3 separate regions of the Homo sapiens genome follow, and regions 2 and 3 are each linked to region 1. The links are contacts of gene promoters, found by promoter capture Hi-C in blood cells and fetal thymus (Javierre and others, 2016). All regions are on one chromosome and are shown on one strand. The core of a region is centred on a gene start or on the middle of the fragment in contact, and the rest is flanking DNA. Distances in the headings are between cores, read along the strand shown.

What was found. The method cuts DNA at HindIII sites, captures the fragments that hold promoters and counts their contacts. A CHiCAGO score of 5 or more calls a contact.
Region 2: a contact is called between a fragment that was not itself captured here and the fragment with the promoter of RHOT1 in region 1, in 1 of 17 cell types (fetal thymus). The highest score is 5.0, in fetal thymus.
Region 3: a fragment that was not itself captured here is called in contact with the fragment with the promoter of RHOT1 in region 1 in 1 of 17 cell types (erythroblasts); the score reaches 6.2 in erythroblasts.

The regions. Positions count from the first base shown.
Region 1 is chr17:32,141,185-32,144,687 of GRCh38, reverse strand. RHOT1 (ras homolog family member T1) reads right to left here and starts at 2,186. Exons shown (of 20, transcript NM_001033566.3): 1 at 1,959-2,186. The coding sequence starts at 1,995. LOC105371730 (a long non-coding RNA gene) reads left to right here and starts at 1,553. Exons shown (of 2, transcript NR_136413.1): 1 at 1,553-1,663; 2 at 1,975-3,462. RefSeq lists silencers at 1,906-1,965, 1,996-2,225 and an enhancer at 2,686-2,855. The HindIII fragment of the contact is 3,152 bases long and covers 1,651-3,503 here.
Region 2 is chr17:31,859,943-31,863,581 of GRCh38, reverse strand. It overlaps UTP6 (UTP6 small subunit processome component), which reads left to right. Exons shown (of 19, transcript NM_018428.3): 19 at 66-2,678. The coding sequence ends at 223. Among named protein-coding and RNA genes, the nearest start is that of COPRS, 2.5 kb to the right of the region's middle. The HindIII fragment of the contact is 1,579 bases long and covers 1,135-2,713 here.
Region 3 is chr17:32,447,149-32,450,868 of GRCh38, reverse strand. The region is part of intron 2 of PSMD11 (proteasome 26S subunit, non-ATPase 11); the gene reads right to left. Among named protein-coding and RNA genes, the nearest start is that of PSMD11, 4.5 kb to the right of the region's middle. The HindIII fragment of the contact is 6,802 bases long and covers 1-3,720 here.

The sequences.
Region 1 (3,503 bases), core at 937-3,436:
TTGTAGAGACAGGATCTCACTACATTGCCCAGGTTGGTCTCAAACTCCTTGGCCTCAAGTGATCCTCCTGCCTCAGCCTCCCAGAGTGCTTGGAATACAGGTATAAGCCACCTCACCCAGCTGTGTGGGAGCATTATTAAAGGTTTTTTTTCAGACAGAGTCTTGCTCTGCTGCCCAGGCTGGCATGTCTCAGCTCACTGCAACCTCCTCCTCCAGGGTTCAAGTGATTCTCCTGCTTCAGCCTCCAGAGTAGCTGGGACTACAGGTGTGTGCCACCACACCCGGCTAATTTTCGTATTTTTAGTAGAGACGGGGTTTCACCATGTTGGCCAGGCTCGTCTCGAACTCCTGACCTCAAGTGATCTGCCTGCCTTGGCCTCCCAAAGTGCTGGGATTACAGGCATGAGCCACAGTGCCTGTAATCCCAGGCACTGCACTCCAGCCTCGGTGACAGAGCGAGACTCTGTCTCAAAACAACAACAACAACAAACTATTTCATCATATATTTAAGGATCAGTTTTTTAAGCAAGTCGTCTACTCACTTTCCCTACCTTGCTCCAAAAGCATAAGCATGAATTATATGTTAAATAACACCTTCCTGAACCTTGTCAAGGAAGTCCATGAAAAATACAGATTAAGATATAGTTATAAATAAAAATAAAAATTTACAACTGCAAATCAAAAAGTAAACTATGGCTGGCTAAGCTTACTCCTAAATTCTAATTCTAAAGGAAGATTTCTCCAAACAGCAGGTGGATGAAATTTCAATGAACTCAAAGAACACTACAGAAGAGGGTAAAAACGTGTTAACTTTCTTCCTTGGGATTCCATCACGGTGACCCTGAGGGGTTACCAAGAATGAAATAATGGTTTAAAACAGAATGCTTCGAAACAGCAATGGCAGACTATTAACGAATGTATTAACTCTTTAAAACAAACAATCCAGTTATCCCTGGCCCACTTTCTTATTTTAGTCCTAGCAACTGAGTTACATAACTTGCAGAGTGAAATCAAGAAGTCCCCGCTGTTGCGTCCTCATGTCAGTGAACAGAGGGAACTCTCCTTTATTATATTTTCAAAAGGTGAAATGTATGAAATTTCTGGGTGGGGGGAGATATCAAATGTCTGTGTGCCTGTGGTTATTAATAAGTTAACTACGAAGTAACTATGGAATAAATAATGCTTAAAAAGAGGGCAAAGATTACGCTTTAGGGTAACAACAATTGGACCCTCCCCAGATAATTCTAATTCATTGAGCGCTTGCATAACTCGAAGTTGAGTAAAAATTTTTGATGAAATATCTCGAGTACGAGGAGTTAGTCCAATGCAAAGTACAAGTACTGCTAAAAAGGATCCGGCCCTTTCCACTACTCATATCTTAATGTCAATACATAGAGAGAGTGAAGACTGCGAGTGCCAAAAAAATGCAGAAACCTGACCTTGCCCACAAGTCGAATAGTTCTGCACCCCTCCCCCAGCTTCCCCGGGAGCCGGTTCACGCAATCCCTATTGGTCAGTCTGCTTATTCCAGCACCTGCCTGGCAGTGATAAGGGAATCTCCAGAAGACAAGAAGGTCTGAAAGGAGGCGGCCTGGGAAACTGTGAGGCCCAGAAGGACAGGGTTCGAAGAGGAAAAGGAGGAGAGAAGCTTCGGAGGGATGAGGTCGGGCGGTTAGGGCTAATAGGGACATGGCTTGGGAGGACGGCTGGGGAACAGGGAAAGGAGATCTCTGGAGGGCCCAGGTGAGGTGACAGGGTGAGGGCCGCCGGCGGCCAGCCAAAAGAGAAGAGTGAAGGGGCTGGAAGGCCTAGGAACGCGGAGAAAGGCGAGCGGAGCTGTGAGGCGCGAGAAGGGCCGGGGCTGCAAAGGTTGGGGCTGCAGGGGCGACAGGGGCGACAGGGGCTGCAGGGGCAGGGAGGGCAGGGACTCAGGGGCCGGCCAGAGGGTGCGGACTCACGTTCTCCCACCAGCAGGATCCGCACGTCTTTCTTCATGTCGGCGGCTCTCGGGGGCCGGCCTCCGCCCGCACGCACGGAGTGGACTCCTCTCACCAGGAGCACCCACCCCACGGCGCCACCTGCCAGCCTCTTCGGCCGCCGGGGCCCGCCGCGCCGCCCCCTCAGTTGCTTCCCCGCAAGAGAGCCGGGACAGCGCCAGCTCCGCCTCCTCCGGCCCAGCGGGCTGTGGCGGCGGCGGCGGCGGCGGCGGCGGCGGCGGCGGCGGCGGCGGCGGCGGGGACGACGGCACGCGGCGAGGGACACGCGCTTTCGGAACGCGAACGCGCTCTGCGCCGGAACAGCGCTCCCGCTGTCAGGCCGCCGCAGCGCAGGCCCAGGGAGCCTCGCCCACCCTCCTTTGGGCACCGCGACCCCGGAGACACTTGGGCCAGGAATTTGAATGGCGGATTCCCTGGTTTAACCCCGTTTATTTTATAGATAGGGACAGAAATTCCCTGTTCAAAGTCACATAGCTAGAGCTTGGCAGTGACTCAGAGCAGGGATCTTCTCACCAGACCATAAACTCCGGGAGGGCAGCGATCAGCTTGCATGGTTTTCAGCTGCGTCCCCACGTTATTGGATAGGGCCGTCAGAAAATGCTTGATCGAGTAGGGCGACTGGCTCCCAGGATCCGGCGCTTTCCACTCCCCAAAGCCCGTCACCCTAGTTGCTTTTGCCTCTGATGCTTATAAAATACGATTATAAGATTCGTTTTTACGCTGTGTGAACAAGACTCCTTTCTTTATAACCAAACTAAGTGACTTTTTTTCTGTCTATGTAGTTTATTTTATGGCAGGGTTTTCGGACACTCTTCTTTACTCAGGCTTACCCAGCGTAATGCTAGACACGGAGGTGGCACTCGATAATAAACTCTAGATGATTTTTCTAACATTGCCTTAATTTTCTCGTGACCCTCTCCATCTGGAGGAATTTGTTGTTACATGCTTAATGTTTGGTACACAATGGCAAATATATATATATACATACGCGTGCGAATATATATCACATCCCTAATACTTGGCACACAGTGGGAAATATAAAATACATAAATTAATGAGGAAGCACTATCTGTGCATAATGTACATTTTTTCTATCTTAAATATTACACAATAAACACTTAAAGGGAATGAAATGTGCGTAATACCAACTTCCCTTTCTCCTAGGAGAAGTCATGTGGTCTCTTGCAGCAGTTAAGAGTTGCTGGCAAATTTCCTGGGTTTGAATCTAGGCTCCACATAATAGCTCTGTGATCTCGACTAAGTGCTTTTATTTTTACTTCCCTCAGCCACTGTTCCTTCTTCTGTAGCATGGAAATAATGATGATAATACCTTCCTCTTGAGATGGTTGTGAGTAATAAATACTATAATACTTGTCAAGCATTTGGTACAGTGCCAGACTCAGAGCGTGTGCTCTACTGATCTCAGCTATCATTATTATATTAAAAAGTCACTAAAAAGTTGTAATCCACAGATTTTTTGTTTTGTTTTGGTTTTGTTTTGAGACG
Region 2 (3,639 bases), core at 675-3,174, 280 kb after region 1:
ATATTTAATAAGGTTACCTAATAACACTCTGTCAGTTATCTAATTGTATGTTTTTTTTTTAAAAGATCTTTGGATGGATTATATGAAAGAAGAATTGAACCACCCCCTTGGTAGACCTGAGAACTGTGGACAGATCTACTGGCGAGCGATGAAAATGTTGCAGGGAGAGTCAGCAGAGGCATTTGTAGCTAAACATGCTATGCATCAGACTGGCCATTTATGAAGATGAAGAATACAGTCAGCTTTGTGAAATAGTATTGCAAGCAAGCCCCGTGGGCAAATTTGTATTGAGTCCATCTGTAATTTGCTCAGTGATGGCAGACAAGATGGCTGTCTGGTTTTGAGACACACTTTAATTTTATGTTAACTTGTTAAATCTTTTTAAAAATTAAAAAATTTTTATGATTGAGACTGGGTCTTGCTCTGTTGCCCTGGCTGGTCTTGAACTCCTGGACTCAAGTGACCTTCTCACCTCAGACTCCTGAGTAGCTGGGATTATAGGTGCATGACACTGCTCAGTTTGATGTGCTAATCTGATTCCAGTAAAGAGAATTGCTGATTTAATGTTGAGGCCCGATCTTCCACAGGTCCTAAATGTTTCCCAAAATACATGGATAGCATACGACTGGGTTTTTTTAAAATTATCCCAGGTCAAGCATGAGTATCTCTAATCTCGACCTAAGAGCCAGTTAAAATGAAGGAGAAAGTGGCCAGGCATGGTGACTCAACGCCTGTAATCCCAGCACTTTGGGAAGGCTGAGGCAGGCGGATCACCTGAGGTCAGGAGTTTGAGACTAGCCTGGCCAACATGGTGAAACCCCGTCTCTACTAAAAATACAAAAATTAGCCAGGTGTGGTGGTGGGTGCCTGTAATCCCAGCTGCTTGGGAGGCTGAGGCAGGAGAATTGCTTGAACCTGGGAGACGGAGGTTGCAGTGAGCCGAGATCATGCCATTGCTACTCCATCCTGGGTAAGAAGAGCGAAACTCCTTCTCAAGGAAAAAAAAAAAGGAGAAAGTACAGTTTTGTTGGTTTATTCTCATTATAAAAGATACGTGGTATGCATTTGTTCTGGAAAATATGGAGGAAATAGAATAGTGTGGTAAAAAAAAGCATCCTGTCACTGGGAGAAGCTTTCAGTGTAGCTTATTGTTACGTTTCACTTAGTATTGTTTTTCTGTGTCATTAAATAGCCTTAAAAACATTTAATGAATTCGTAACATTACATTGTAAAAATGAGCCATAATATATTTTACTAATCCTCTGGTTAGACTGTCTTTTTTTTTTTGAGATGGAGCCTTGCTCTGTCATCCAGGCTGGAGTGCAGTGGCTCCATCTCGGCTCACTGCAACCTCCACCTCCCGGGTTCAAGTGGTTCTGGCTCAGCCTCCCGAGCAGCTGGGTGGGATTACAGGCACCCGCCACCGCGCCCAGCCAATTTTTGTATTTTTAGTAGTGCGGGGGTTTCATCATATTGGCCAGGCTGGTTGCGAACTCCTGACCTCATGATCCACCCGCCTTGGCCTCCCAAAGTGTTGGGATTACAGGCGTGAACCACTAAGCCTGGCCTGGACTGTCATTTCTAATTTTTTTAAAAATTAGATAAATGCTGTTGATGAAGATTCTTGTCAATCTTTGTTCACATCCCTGGCCATTTCCTTAGGAGATTGACATCCGACAGTGGAATTACTGGATCAAAGGATACTGCTTTTAGAGAATACTGATATGTATTGCTGGTTTGCTCCTTCTTTCAAGCAATACATGAAAGTGTCAGTACCCTTACCTGTACTGGTGTAATTATATCTTTTATTTTTACCATTTTATAGGTGAAATGTGATATGTCATTGTTTTACCATACTTTGATATTAGTGAAGTTAGTGTATTTTATGTTTCTCATCTTTTTACATCCTTAGACTATTTAAAAATTTTTTTTCTTACTAATTTATGAGTTAATTTTTTTTTTTAAATTGGACAAGTTCTTGCTTTGTCACCTAGGCTAGAGTGCAGTGGTGTGATCATGGCTCACTACAGCCTTAACTTCTGGGCTCAAGAGATCCTCCCACCTCAGCCTCTTGAGTAGCTGGGACTGCAGGTGCACACCACCATGCCTGGTTAATTTAAATTTTTTTTTGTAGAGACTGGTCTTGCTATGTTGCCAGGGCTGGTCTCTTAAACAGTTGGGCTCAAACAATCCTCCTACCTCAACCTCCCAAAGTGCTGGTATTATAGGCATGAGCCATTGTGCCTGGCCAGAGTTTTTAAAAACATATTCAGAATATTAATATCTTGTTTCTCATTTGTTGCAAATAATTTTACCCCCAGCCTTGTTTGTGGTGATTTTTTTTTTTTGAGACAGAGTCTTGCTCTGTGGTCCAGGCTGGAGTGCAGTGGTGTGGTCTTACTGCAACCTCTGCCTCCTAGGTTCAAACAGTTCTCCCTGCCAAAGCCTCCCAAGTAGCTGGGATTATAGGCACCTTTTGTGGCGATTTTTGATGCCCAGAGGTATTTTGTGTGTGTATGTGTGATGTCTGTTTTTAAAATGCTTTGGAAGCTCTTCCTGGTGCTGAGAACAACTCTTTTTCCCCAAGCAGTTAATTTTGCCAACACTATTTGGGCAGTTATGTTTCTCTCTGCTGATTTGTGATGTTACCTTTATTATATATTAAATTTCTATGAGTATTAGAGTCTACTTTAGAACATTTTTATTTTAAGCTTTTGTACTGTTTTCTTTTTCTTTCTGGTTTTTTTTTTTTTTAGACCAAGTCTCACTCTGTCGCCCAGGCTGGAGTGCTGTGGGGCAATCTCTGCTCACTGCACCCTCCACCTCCCGGGCTCAAGTGATTCTCCTGCCTCAGCCTCCCGAGTAGCTGGGATTATGGGTGTGTGCCACCACGCCTGGCTAATTTTTGTATTTTTAGTAGAGATGGGGTTTCACCATGTTGGCCAGGATAGCCTTGAACTGACCTCAAGTGATCTGCCTGCCTCGGCCTCCCAAAGTGCTGGAATTACAGGAGTGAGCCACCGCGGCCAGCCCCTGTTTTCTTGTCATTTGTTTTAAAATAAGAAAAAAATTCCTCTTTTTCCTGTCCCTTAAGTCCTGGGATGTTTAACATTCTTAATCTTATTTGGCACTTTAATTTTACGAAAGAGATATGTAGATTAGGGAGCAAAGAGGATAGTGGTAGTCTCCTTAACACAAGGCTATAAGGGTGGTCACCTGGGGTCATCACATCCCTGTATCTGATTCTCAATATTGCAGGTTATGAAAACACATCTAGCTAGTACACCTAGAGTTGCACTGTTAGAAACAGTAGCTCCAAGGCACATGTAGCAATTTAAATTTATTAGAATTATTCAATTTATTCACATTGGCCACATTTCAAGTGCTCAGTAGGTATATGGTTACTATATTGGACAGTACAGATAGTAGAACTTTCATTTCCACTTCCACCATTAAAGAACGTTCTATTGGACATTGCTGACCTAGAGGCAGTTAGCCTTGGGGATACTGACTCCTGTGTAGGAACATCTACATATAGAACAAAAATAATATCGAATATTGTGTGTCAGTTTTATGCTAAATTTTTTCAAATGCCTTTTGTGTTGTACAAACAACACAGTCTTTGAGGGGGATGAAGGA
Region 3 (3,720 bases), core at 81-2,580, 310 kb before region 1:
AAACTGGTCCACATAACTCCTGGCTTCAAGCAATCCTCCCACCTCAGCTTCCCAAAGTCCTGGGATTACAGGTGTGAGCCACTGTGCCCACCTGCATTTTTCAGACTCAGTTCATCATCTGTTTTAGTCTACTACTGTTTTATATTCATTCTTGTTTGTATTTCCTGTTTCCTTCCACTTTCATACATACTGAGTTAATTTTTTTTTAAGTCCCATAAAATCATACTGACTTCCTCCTATTCTTACTGGGATTATCTGTAATTATATGACCAGATTTTCCTTGTCAGAACCTCACAGAACTTGGCTGGGCGCGGTGGCTCACACCTGGAATCCCAGCACTTTGGGAGGCCAAGGCGGGTGGATCACCTGAGGTCAGGAGTCCAAGACCAGCCTGGCCAACATGGTGAAACCTCGTCTCTACTAAAAGAAAAAAAAAAAAAAAAAAATTAGCCGAGCATGGTGGCTCACGCCTGTAGTCCCAGCTACTTGGGGAGGCTGAGGCCCGAGAATTGCTTGAACCCAGGAGGCAGAAGTTGCAGTGAGCCGAGATCACACCACTGCACTCCAGCCTGGGCAACAGAATGAAACTCGGTCTCAAAAAAAAAAAAGGCCAGGCACAGTGGCTCATGCCTATAATCACAACACTTTGAAAGGCTGAGGTGGGTGGATCATTTGAGGTCAGGAGCCCAAGATCAGCCTGGACAACATGATGAAACTCCGCCTCTACTAAAAATACAGAAATTAACCGGGGGTGGTGGTGGGCGCCTGTAGTTCCAGCCACTTGGGAGCCTGAGGCAGGACCTCACAGAACTCAACAGATTCCTTTTAGAAGTTTTAGGCTATGAAATCCTGAGCCAAGGCATCATGTCTGATGATGCTCAACACTACTAACACTACTTGCAATCACAATTACACATCAGACATTGTTTTATTTGGTAATCCCCAAGTGATTTTTGTTGGCCAGGGATCCTATCTTAAATTTTTGAGTAGAATACTTAGCACAATGCTATGCATTTATTAAATGCATAAAAAAACTGAACATTAATGGAACAGACATATTTTCTGTTCTCAGGAGCAAACAATACAAACATATCATTAATAGCAAAGACAGCTAAATATATGTAGGCCTCAACACTTCCTTAGAGTTCCCATTGTGTATACCTATACTCATCAAACTTTCTTAGAAAACAATAAGTAACATGGAAATGTTTTTGAAAGTTCTTATAATTCATCTATTAAATTCCAATAGCTTTAGCAGTACACTTCTAAACTTCTCAGGTCACAAGGCAGGAAGGGCAAGAAATAAGGGGAGAATACATATAAAATAGGAATTTCAAGCAAAACAGTAACATTTTTGGATGAAAATTACTTAAGTATTGACTATATACCACACACTGTTCTTAATTCATGCCACTGGAGGAAAGTAGAAATTTGGATATTTCAACAACAAAAAAATCTTTTTTTGAGACAGGGTCTTGCTCTGTCACCCAGGCTAGAGCACGGCAGTGTGACCATAGCTCACTACAGCCTCAACCTCCTCGGCTCAAGCAATCCTCCCACCTCAGCCTCCAGAGTAGCTGGGACTACAGGCACATAACACCACACCCAGCTAATTTTTCTATTTTTTGTAGAGACAGGGTCTCATTATGTTGCCAGAGCTGGTCTCAAATTCCTGGGCTCAAGGGATCCTCCTACCTCAGCCTACCAAAGTGCTGGGATTACAGGCATGAGCCATCACGCCTGGCTAACAACAAAAAAAATTTTCACATCACTTCAGTTGGCTTTATAATTCAGAAAAATTACCTTATTATATTTTGCATGGAGTAATTATCAAAACTGTTTTGGAACCCCCCAAGCTCAAATTAACTGACAGACAAGTGGAATCCTTATGTATGTTAAATAGGAAGGAAGTCAGCCTAAGATGAAAAGACACCACCCACCAATGATAATTCATTTAAGTAGACAGTTATAGGAAAGCAATAACCATGATGTCATGTGGCTATATGGGCTCTGAAGTAAGACTACATGAGCTCAAATCCTAGGTCTACCAGTTATTAGTTGAATGAGCTTTGTTAAGTTATTTAACTTTTCTGTGCTCAGTATCCTCATGTGTAAAATGGTAACAAAACCTACTTCAAGTTGTTTCGAGGATTCAATTAAGTTAAACCATGTATGTGTTTAGAAGAGTAACCACTTGGCCAGGTGCAGTGGCTCACACCTGTAATCCCATCATTTTGGGAGGCCAAGGCAGGTAGATCACCTGAGGTCAGGAGTTCAAGACCAGCCTGACCAACATGGTGAAACCTCGCCTCTACTAAAAAAAAAAATACAAAATTAGCCGGGCATAGTGGCGCATGCTGGCAATCCCAGCTACTCGGGAGGCTGAGATAGTAGAATCGCTTGAACCTGGGAGGCAGAGGTTGCAGTGAGCCGAGATCGCACCATTTGCACTCCAGCCTGGGCAACAAGAGCAAAACTCTGTCTCAAAAATAATAATAATTAAAAAAAAAAAAGTTCATAGCACTCAAAAACCATTATGGATGGTTCTTTTTATAGCTACTTAATGATGTTTTAAGTAAGATATAAGGCCCATGTAAACACATCCTCACAATTTCATACATCTTTATTCAGCTCTATAGACTGAGCCTAATAATTAATAAGTTAGTTATCTTTAATTGAAAAAAATCACTGGCCGGGCACAATGGCTCACACCTGGAATCCCAGCACTTTCGGAGGCCGAGGTGGGTGGACCATGAGGTCAGGAGTTCAAGACCAGCCTGATCAACACAGTGAAACCTCGTCTCTATTAAAAATACAAAAATTAGCCAGGCTTGGTGGCGCGTGCCTGTAATTCCAGCTATTCCGGAGGCTGAGGAAGGAGAATCGCTTGAACCCAGGAGGCGGAGGTTGCAGTGAGCCAAGATCGCACCACTGCACTCCAACCCGGGTGACACAGCAAGACCCCGTCTCAAAAAAAAAAAAAGAAAAAGAAAAAAAAAATCTTTAGTTCTCAAGTTGAAGAAGTTGTGCTAACTAACCCCCATCATTCTCTTGAACAACATAATTTTAGGGAAAATAATTCATGAGGTCACTTACCAGATCTTAATCCAATCTAATCAAATAAGCTCTAAATTCACTTTAAACTTGACAAAAATCACCCATTTAAGTTTAAACAGACTTCTCTCTAAATACTATTACCACTTTACTGGTAAAAGGTCCTTCCTGATCAAAAGGACTCCCTTCTCATTCCAAGGACACACCCATCATCAGAATATTATGTCAAATCTAATCAGTCAATGGTTCAATTACAACTAGAATGTTTGAGCAATGATGTGCACAAAGTCCTAGGTATGAATGCAGAAGTCTTGGGAAGGCTCCATTTAATGTCTTATTCATTCTCATTCTGAATCTATCAAAAAAAAATGACAGTGAGTCACTTGGATACAAAATCCTTTGTCATTTTTAAATCAGGCGCTTAAAGTTGTTATCTATCTTAAATACATCAGAGTTGCTCAGTGAAATTATTGAAGACTGTTGCTGCCTCTATGTAAGGGAATACAGTGAGAATTCAAAAACCAGAAACAAATCAGAAATCACTATATCCCAACAAAAATAAGATTGTCTCTCATTTGCAAAACTAAACTACCAGGAAAGAAGTGAGTTTAAAGGCCACTTAATTGCCTGCTAAAAAACTGAAGCTCAACAAGTTGCCAAGAAAAT